Linked DNA regions of Homo sapiens: region 1 is linked to region 2. The links are contacts of gene promoters, found by promoter capture Hi-C in human tissues and cell types (Jung and others, 2019). All regions are on one chromosome and are shown on one strand. Each heading gives the region's core, a stretch centred on a gene start or on the middle of the fragment in contact. The rest is flanking DNA. Distances are from core to core; before and after follow the strand shown. Region 1 overlaps ACSS2 (acyl-CoA synthetase short chain family member 2). Region 2 holds the start of UQCC1 (ubiquinol-cytochrome c reductase complex assembly factor 1).

What was found. Contacts are between HindIII fragments. The study calls those that stand out against the background at their distance.
Region 1: a fragment that was not itself captured here is called in contact with the fragment with the promoter of UQCC1 in region 2 in 1 of the 25 tissues and cell types used here (liver).

The regions. Positions count from the first base shown.
Region 1 is chr20:34,922,732-34,927,084 of GRCh38, reverse strand. It overlaps ACSS2 (acyl-CoA synthetase short chain family member 2), which reads right to left. Exons shown (of 18, transcript NM_018677.4): 14 at 3,654-3,762; 15 at 1,319-1,387; 16 at 804-980; 17 at 134-208. Among named protein-coding and RNA genes, the nearest start is that of GSS, 31 kb to the left of the region's middle. The HindIII fragment of the contact is 6,103 bases long and covers 1-4,353 here.
Region 2 is chr20:35,409,295-35,414,028 of GRCh38, reverse strand. It overlaps UQCC1 (ubiquinol-cytochrome c reductase complex assembly factor 1), which reads left to right and starts at 2,056. Exons shown (of 10, transcript NM_018244.5): 1 at 2,056-2,089. The coding sequence starts at 2,066. RefSeq lists enhancers at 1,821-1,870, 1,078-1,900, 2,001-2,150, 2,211-2,310, 1,901-2,724. The HindIII fragment of the contact is 20,339 bases long and covers 1-4,734 here.

The DNA of each region.
Region 1 (4,353 bases), core at 990-3,489, 490 kb after region 2:
GGGGAACCACAGACCTCTAGTTACTTGGTGAAAGCACTGACCCACCCTAGCCCTGCCAAAGGCTTTCATCCACGCACACCCCACCACCACCAGGCCTCAGCCCATCCCAATCCATGGAGGCCTCTGAACATACCTGAGCGGGTTTTAGGCAAGCCAGGTGCATTCTGGATGTAGTCTGGTGTGGCAATGGGGCCAATCTTTTCTCTAACTGTAACCAACAAATCATCAAGCATTTCTTCAGCACCCTTAGCCAGACTTTTCAAAAATCAAAGTAGAGATGGCTTTGTTCCCCACCTGTTTCCTCCTCAAGTCCCTGCCCACAGAGACAGCCTCAGGTTCACTGCTTCTCTTGCTCTCAACACACTTGTCTCTTTACTCTCTCATTTTATCTTATGGAACTCAGGCTGTAGAATGAGCCTGCTAGAGTTTAAATGCCACCTTTCTAGCAGTGTGGCCTTGGGCAAGTGATTTAACTTCCATGAGTCTCAGTTTCATCATCTTTAGCATGAAGGTAACAATAAGATCTGTTTCATGGAGGTGACTCTAGGGATTAAGTGGGGTAATTCATTTAAAGCACTTAGCCTAGCGGTGGCACAAAGTATTCTAGAAATGTTGGCTATTATTATTATCCTAGTGGGAGACTAGTGGAGACTGAACAGGAAGAGGGCAATCAGCCCATGGGGCCCCCTGGAATCTGTTTGTGGTTTGGGGAGCAGCTTGCTCTAGCCCCTCCCCAACAACTTGCAGTGATAACTGGGCCTCCAAGACAGACCCTATAGTCCCTGCCCAGGGAGGCTCCTTACTCTGCTTCTTGAGCTCCTCGGTGAGCTTGGGGCTGAAGGTGTGGCCATCACACAAGGTGACAAAGCAGTAGAGGCATTCACCCTTCACAGGATGAGGGTGGCCCACCACAGCTGCCTCTGCAACAGCCTCATGTTCCACAAGTGCTGACTCCACCTCTGCTGTACTCAGCAGGTGTCCTTGTCAAGGGAAAGGAAGTGCCATGAGAGAGATCCCAGGCTCTGCCCCAGCCCATGCTCCATCTGTACCCATGGGGCAGTCCTGGTCTGGCCAAATGGAGAAGACCCTTCATTCACTCCTCAGATGACATGCTTTCAGTCACCCCACCATCCAAGTTCCCCTACTCTAGGCACATTCCAGTGTTCATTACTCCTCTAAAACCTGGGCCCAGAACTGAATGCTACACTTAGTACATGGTCTGGCCAAAGGACACTCCTGGGCTCTTGCGGAAGGCTTCGGCTGGGTGTTGTCAGAGGAGCAGAGTTAATAAGATGGGAAGGTGGCCCCTGGCCCTCACCAGATACATTGAGCATGTCATCAATCCTGCCAGTGATCCAGTAATAGCCATCCTGGTCCCGCTGGCAGCCTGGGAAGAAATGCAAAACCTAATAAATAAAAACCCTACGGTAGGATACCTGATCCACATTACCAAACTGCTACACCTTCTGCAATAGCCTTCTAACAAGTCTTCCTGCTTCCACTCTTGCCCACTGTAGTAGCCAGCCTCCAAGAGGGCACCACTGATCTCTGCCTCTTGGTATTCATAGCCCTGCAGTCCTCTTTCTCATTGTACTAGGGTTAGTCTGTGTCATCATAGGATTTGGCAGAAGTGATAGGATGTCACTTCTGAGATTAGGTTGTAGAAGACACCTAGCTTGTCTCGGTTGCATTGTCTCAGATCATTTGCTGTAGGGTAAGCTAGCTGCCATGTATTGAGTAGTCCTATGGTGAGGTGAGGAACTGAGGATTCCTGCTAACAACCATGCGAGTAAGCATGAACGTAGGTCCTCCAGGCTCACTCAAACCTTCAGATGACTACAGGCCCTACCAACAGCTTGACTGAAACTCACAAGAGACCCAGAATGAGAACTACCCAGTGAAACTGTTCACAGACTCCTGATCCTCAGAAACTGTGTGAGATAATATTTGTTATTTTAAGCTGCCAACTTTTGGGATAATTTGTTCCATGCCAATAGTATACTCACCTAAACTCTATTCTCCATAAATCCAGCAAAGTTATTTTCTAAACAGTAAATCAATTCTTAGCACTCCCCTGCTTAAAACCCCAAAAGGTGGCCAGGCATGGTGGCTCATGCCTGTAATCCCAGCACTTTGGGAGGCCAAGGTGGGTGGATCAGGAGTTCGAGACCAACATGGCCAACATGGTGAAACCCCGTCTCTACTAAAAATACAAAAATTAGCCAGGCATGGTGGCACCCGCCTGTAATCCCAGCTACTTGAGAAGCTGAGGCAGGAGAATTGCTTGAACCCGGGAGGTGGAGGTTGCAGTGAGCTGAGGTCGTGCCACCGCACTCCAGCCTGGGTGACAGAGTGAGATTCTGTCTCAAAAAAAAAACAAACAACAACAACAACAACAACAAAAAAAAGGTTTCCCACTGTACTTTGAATAAAATTCAAACTCCTCACCATGGCCCACAAGACCCTCCCTGTATTATGTACGTCTCCAACGTCATGTAATATTCTTCCCTTTGCTTGCTACGCTCCAGCCACACAGGCTTCAGTCCATTCTTCAGACATCTCAAGCTGTGTCCCTCTGCACAAAACACTCTTACTCTAGATTTTCCCATGCCTGTTTCCTTCTCACCCTTCAGGCCTCTGCTCAAATGTCAATTCAGAGAAGTCTTCTCCGACGATCCTGTGTACAGTAGCCATCCCTGCACACACTATCATGCTACCCTGTTTATTTTTCTTAACAGCATTTATCTCTATCTAAGATAAGCTTATTTATGTTTGTTGGGTTTGTCTGTCTCCCCTTACTAGAATCCCCATGAGGGAGGAGATTTTGACTACATTATTCATGATCAGTGCCTGGGCACAGGATCACAGTGCTCAGATCTTATGGATGAATGGATTGGTAGATGGATAGATGGAGAAACACAGACTCCAGACATAAAGACAAACATGACATAATAGTCATGCACTGCCACATGCCCCATCTCTTTCAACACAGGAGCATACATTGTCCATCTTTCCTCATACATCAAAGTTCGGATGGCACCATTCTGAGACCCCTCCTGCTATACTCATTCCTGCCCTTACAGTCTTTGTAGCTCTGCGTAGAAACCAGATACTGACATGTAGGACACATTCTTCTCTAATTTTCTTTACCCCTAACCAACTGATATAGTTTGGATGTTTGTCCCTTCCAAATCTCATGTTGAAATATGATCCCCAGTGTTAGAGGTGGGGCCTGGTGGGAGGTGTTTTGGTCAAGGCCGGGGAGGTGGGGGGGGCGGGGGGGACAGATCCCTCATGAATGGCTTGGTGCTGTACTTGCAGTAACTCTATGAGTTCATGTAAGATCTGGTTGTTTAAAAGAGGCTGGTATCTCCTCCCTCTCTCCCTTGCTTCCTCTCTTGCCATGTCAAACACTGGCTTTCCCTTTGCTTTCTGCCGTGATTGGAAGCTACCTGAGGCCTCACCATAGGCAGATGCCAGCACCATGCTTCCTGCACAGCCTGAAGAATGATGATCCAAAATAAACCTCTTTTCTTTATAAATCACCCAGTCTCAGGTATTATTTTATAGCAACACACCAACTCTTCCTGAAAATGGAAGTGGAAGGTACATGTCTTAGTGGGAGGTGCAAGAGGGGGATAGCTAAGGCTCACCATCTCCTGTAACATAGTATCCAGGAAACTTCTTAAAGTAGGTTGTCTCAAAGCGTTCGTGGTTCCCATAGACTGTGCGCATGATCCCTGGCCAGGGCTGCTTGAACACCTGGGGAGTGAGGAAGGGACAGTGATCACATTTGCTATGCTGTCTCACTGGAAGATAATTACAGCTTTTCTAAATGTGGGGGAAAGTGTCCTGAATGAAGTACAGGCTTTGGAGACAGAGGATCCTGGCTTGGAATCCCAGCTCTACCACTTACTAGCTAGGTGACCTCAGAGAAGTAACTTTACCCCTCTGAGCTTCAGGATCCTCATCTGTAAATCAGAGAAAATACTTTCTGTCTTCCAAAGTTATTGTGAGGATTAAATTAATAGTATATGGAAATTGCCTAGCACGGTGTTCTATTATTGATAAGTGTTTAGTAAATTTGTGTCTCCTTTTGGGCAATCCTTGAGGAAAGCAGGTCCAGTTTGATACAAATGAAAACACTCATTTAAAAAACAGTGGTGCCCACACACCAAGTAAATAATTATTGCCCAATCAGTAACATTCTTTGGCAGCAGATCGATGGAATGGATGGAATTCTAGGCTGAGTCAGAAGGCCTGGATGTAAGCCCTGTCCCTGTTACTAACTTGCTCTTGGGAAAGTGAAATGGGGTGGGGTTGAAGGGACAGGTGAGGCTCCTGCAAGTATGA
Region 2 (4,734 bases), core at 807-3,306:
TTAAAGAACATATTTTAAACATTTCCAGCACAAAAATATGAGGTAATGCATATATTAATTAGCTTGACTTAGCCATTTCACAATGTATACATATTTTAAAACATCCTGGCCGGGGGCACGGTGGCTCACTCTTGTAATCCCAGCACTTTCGGAGGCCGATGTGGGTGGATCACCTGAGGTTAGGAGTTTGAGACCGTCCTAGCCGAAATGGCAAAACCCCGTCTCTACTGAAAACACAAAAATTAGCCAGGCGTGGTGGTGCGCATCTGTAATCCCAGCTACTTGGGAGTCTGAGGCAGGAGAATCGCTTGACTTGGGAGGTGGAGGTTGCAGTGAGCCGAGATTGAGCCACTGCACTCCAGCCTGGGCGACAAGAGTGAAACTCTGTCTCAAAAAAAAAAAAAAAAAGAAAAAAGAAAACATCCTGTTGTACACAATATATATTTTTTGTCAATTAATAAAAATCAATAAATTTAATTAAAAAAATAGTCGAGTGAAGTTATTTCCCATGACTAGCTCCTCTTCTTCCTTTAGATTTCATCTTACATGTCACTTTCTTGGAGAGGCCTTACCAACCTAACCAAAGTAGCTCCCCAGTTTTAATTTTTTTCACTGGGTTCCTATGCCTCCCCCACCAGTCTAAGAACTCCATGAAGCCAGTATGTCTTGTGTTCAGCACATAGGGAAGACTCAATAGGTCTTTGTTGACTGAATGAAATGAAAGAAGTCCTTCAACATCCTGCCCCTCTGCTCCCTCAACCCCCAAAGCACCAGTACTTTGTCTTCTCTTCTCTTGGGATGTAATGGAAGAGGAGTCTTCTACCAAGGCCGTTCTCTGCCACTTTCCTCAAGAAGCTCCTTGCCTCTTTGATTGATTCTCCTGTATACTCTTTTTTTTTTTTTTTTTTTGAGACGGAGTCTCGCTTTGTCACCCAGGCTGGAGTTCAGTGCCCCAGTCTCAGCTCACTGCAACCTCTGCCTCCCGGGTTCAAGCGATTCCCTGCCTCAGCCTCCCAAGTAGCTGGGATTACAGGCACACGCCACCATGCCCGGCTAATTTTTTTCGTATTTTCAGTAGAGACGGGGTTTCACCATATTGGTCAGGCTGGTCTTGAACTCCTGACCTCAGGCAATCCACCTGCCTCGGCCTCCCAAAGTGTTGGGATTACAGGCATGAGCCACCGGGCACGGCCCTGTATACTCTTCACTAATCTTTTCCTATCAATATGCAAAGATGTTTCCCTTAAACAACCAACCAACCACAAATCCCAAAAGTTTCTTCCTCTACCAGGCTTCAGATCGGCACATGACCGCCTTCTTGCCTTGACTTTCAGGAGTCTGGTATCCCCCGTATTCTTTTATCTTAGCCTCCTTCTCTGGCTTTTTTTTTTTTTTTTTTTTTTTTTTTTTTGAGACAGAGTCCAGTCCTGCTCTGTCGCCCAGGCTGGAGTGCAGTGGCGCGATCTCGGCTCACTGCAACCTCTGCCTTCAGAGTAGCTGGGATTACAGGCACACACCAACATGCCCGGCTACTTTCTTTGTATTTTTAGTTAGGGACGGGGTTTTGCCATGTTGGCCAGGCTAGTCTCGAACTCCTGATCTCAGGTGATCCGCCCGCCTCGGCCTCCCAAAGTGCTGGGATTACAGGCGTGAGCCACCGCGCCCGGTCTTCTGGCTCTTTCTAAAGATTGGGATTTCCTAAAGTCCTGTTCTTTTCAACCTCCATTGAAAAGTGTTGGGGTGGAGTTTGGGAAGGAGGGGCTGAGGAGTGAGGCTGGGTTAGGTGGGGAATAAAGAGAGGGATATGAGAAGCCCCGAGGTCTGGGGTCAAGGAGACAGGCGTGGGGGAAGGATTTGAACCACTGTTACGTGTAGTGGGGGAGACAGCAGGGAGAGCGTGCCCGGGCACGACAGCCTGGTGCACAGCCGAGAAAACAACAGCGCGTGCGCGTAGCGACCTCTTTGCGCCTGCGCCCCCCTTGCCAGTCTTTCGCCGGCAAAAGGAGGACGTAGAAAAGGGGACACCGGAAACTCACTCTTCACCCGGAAATGGTTATTGAGGAACATGGCGTTGCTGGTGCGAGTCCTTGTGAGTGAAGGAGTAATTTTCTACGGTAGCTCTCTGGGTCCCGGGTTGGAGTTCGACAAGGCAGGGCGGGAGGAATTGGAAGGAATCGCAGGAGGGAAGCCTGTGTTATAGCTAGGCTGAGTGGCCGCTTTTCCGTGGGGAAACTGAGGCAGCTTCCGACCTCTTCCTACCCCGTTTTGACCTTAGCTCCCCCATCTTTCGAGAAGGGGAAGACTGACATCTGGCCTTTATTTGATGGGGTTTACTTTTCCTTCCCTCCCCCATGTACCTGCTTCCCCTCAGGGAGAGGAGCATGTAGGACACTGATTGGAGTTTCAGGAGGCCTGGGTTCTAGTCCCTGACTGTCACTGATGCATAGTGACTTTAAGCAAGTCACTTTTGGGCCTCATTGACCCTATGTGAAAAACGAGGACATTTATCTCCTGCAGTCCCTTTAGATTCTGAGATTCTCAGGGTTTCTTTCATAGGTAATAAGTCAGTTCTTAACTGTACAGTTAAGTGGAATATAGATTATTAGATTGAAAGCTGCGTGAGAATTGGAGTCATGTCTGTCTCCGTCGTTTTCACTTTGCCTAGCATGGTGTCTGGCACATCATAGGTGTTAAATGATTACTTGTTGAATAAATGAATGAAGTAAGGAAAGACTACCAGACTCTTTAGCACCCGTGTGTGAAACTACTGCACCTCTTGAGATTTAGTCCTGACCCTTCTAGCATACTCTTTTCTCTAGCAATTAAAGGAGAAAAGAAAGTGGCAGCAGAAAAAACGTTAGGATACAGAGCTTAGTTTTTAATCATGGAGGGATGGGAGAGTGTATAGTTTTAGCGAGTCTTCAAAAACTGGGTCAAAGACACTGTTTTTCATAGTAGACATGGTCTATTCCTGTGTCTAGGTAACTTCTGAATTGTTATTTTACATTTGTGTTTTTGATCTTTTTATATATGTCTTACAAGGACGACAGTTTTACTTCTTGTATTCCTTGCCAGCCTAGCAGAGTGAGGTACCCTCGACTGCTGTTCAGTAAATATTTATTTGTAGAGTAGCCCCTGTAACTGCCAGAAAGATTCACCTGGTGAAGTGATTGTTTGATTTCAGGCCAGAAATTGATTCAGAAATGAGGACTGCTGGGGAAATGGCAATTAGAATGTTCTGAATTTAGTGGTTTTTTTTTTTTTTTTTTTTTTAATCCTTCCCCTGCCACCCTTTAGGGTTTTGTTTTTTTTTTTTTTTTTTTTGAGGCAGAGTCTTGCTCTGTCGCCGAAGCTGGAGTGCAGTGGTGCCATCTCGGGCTCACTGCAACTTCTGCTCCCGGGTTCAAGCAATTCTCCTGTGCCAGCCTCCCGAGTAGCTGGGATGACAGGCATGCACCACACCACACCTGACTAATTTTTGTATTTTTTTTTTTTTTGAGATGGAGTCTCGCTCTGTCACCCAGGGTGGAGTTCAGCGGTGTGATCTCGGCTCACTGCAACCTCTGCCTCCTGGGTTCAAGCAGTTCTCCTGCTTCAGCCTCCCAAGTAGCTGGGATTACAGGCGCCTGCCACCACACCTGGCTAACTTTTGTATTTTTAGTAGAGATGGAGTTTCACCATGTTGGCCAGACTGGTCTCGAACTCCTGACCTCATGATCCGCCTCCTGCGGCCTCCCAAAGTGCTGGGATAACAGGCATGAGCCACCGAGCCTGGCCTGACAACTATCATTTTATAGGGCACTTACTACGTGCTAAGCACTTTAAAATACTTACCTAATCCTTATAACATCCCTTTGGAAAGGAGGGCGTGTTATTTCCTCTATTTTACAGATAAGAAAACTGAACCACAGAGAGGTATTCCTGGCCAGGTGCCGTGGCTCACACCTGTAATCCCAGCACATTGGGAGGCTGAGGTAGGTGGATCACTTGAGGCCAGGAGTTCAAGACCAGCCTGGCCAACGTGGTGAAACCCTGTCTCTACTAAAAATACAAAAATTAGCCAGGCCTGGTGGTGGGCGCCTGTAATCCCAGCTACTCGTGAGGCTGAGACACGAGAATTGCTTCAACCCAGGAGGCGGAGGTTGCAGTGAGCTGAGATTGTGCCACTGCAGTCCAGCCTGGGTGAAAGAGTGAAACTCTGTCTGAAAAAAAAAAAGAAGTATTCCTGAAACATTCTTGTTAGTCTTGCTTTATTTTTTCCTCTTTTTGTCTTGTCAGCCAATATTTTCCCTTCTCCAGTGATGGTTTTGGGAAGGAGGAGGAAACTAAAACACTGCTATTGTTGAATGACTACAGCAGAGAGCCTGGACATTTGATCAGTGGAACTGGACATGCTTATGGTTTTTATGAGTTGTCCTGGGCATTGCTGATCATTTCTGCTTTTCTTTGGAAATAGTAAAAATTGCAGAAAGCCACCCTGTACTTTAGAAAATTAAAAAAAAGTTGTGGTAAAATACATGTAACAAAATTTACCTTTTAAACTTTTTTTTTTTTTTCTGAGACGGAGTTTTGCTCTTGTTGCGCAAGCTGGAGTGCAATGGCGTGATCTTGGCTCACTGCAACCTCTGCCTCCCGGGTTCAAGCGATTCTCCTGCCTCAGCCTCCTGAGTAGCTGGGATTACAGGCACGTGCCACTACGTTCAGCTAATTTTTTGTATTTTTAGTAGAAATGGG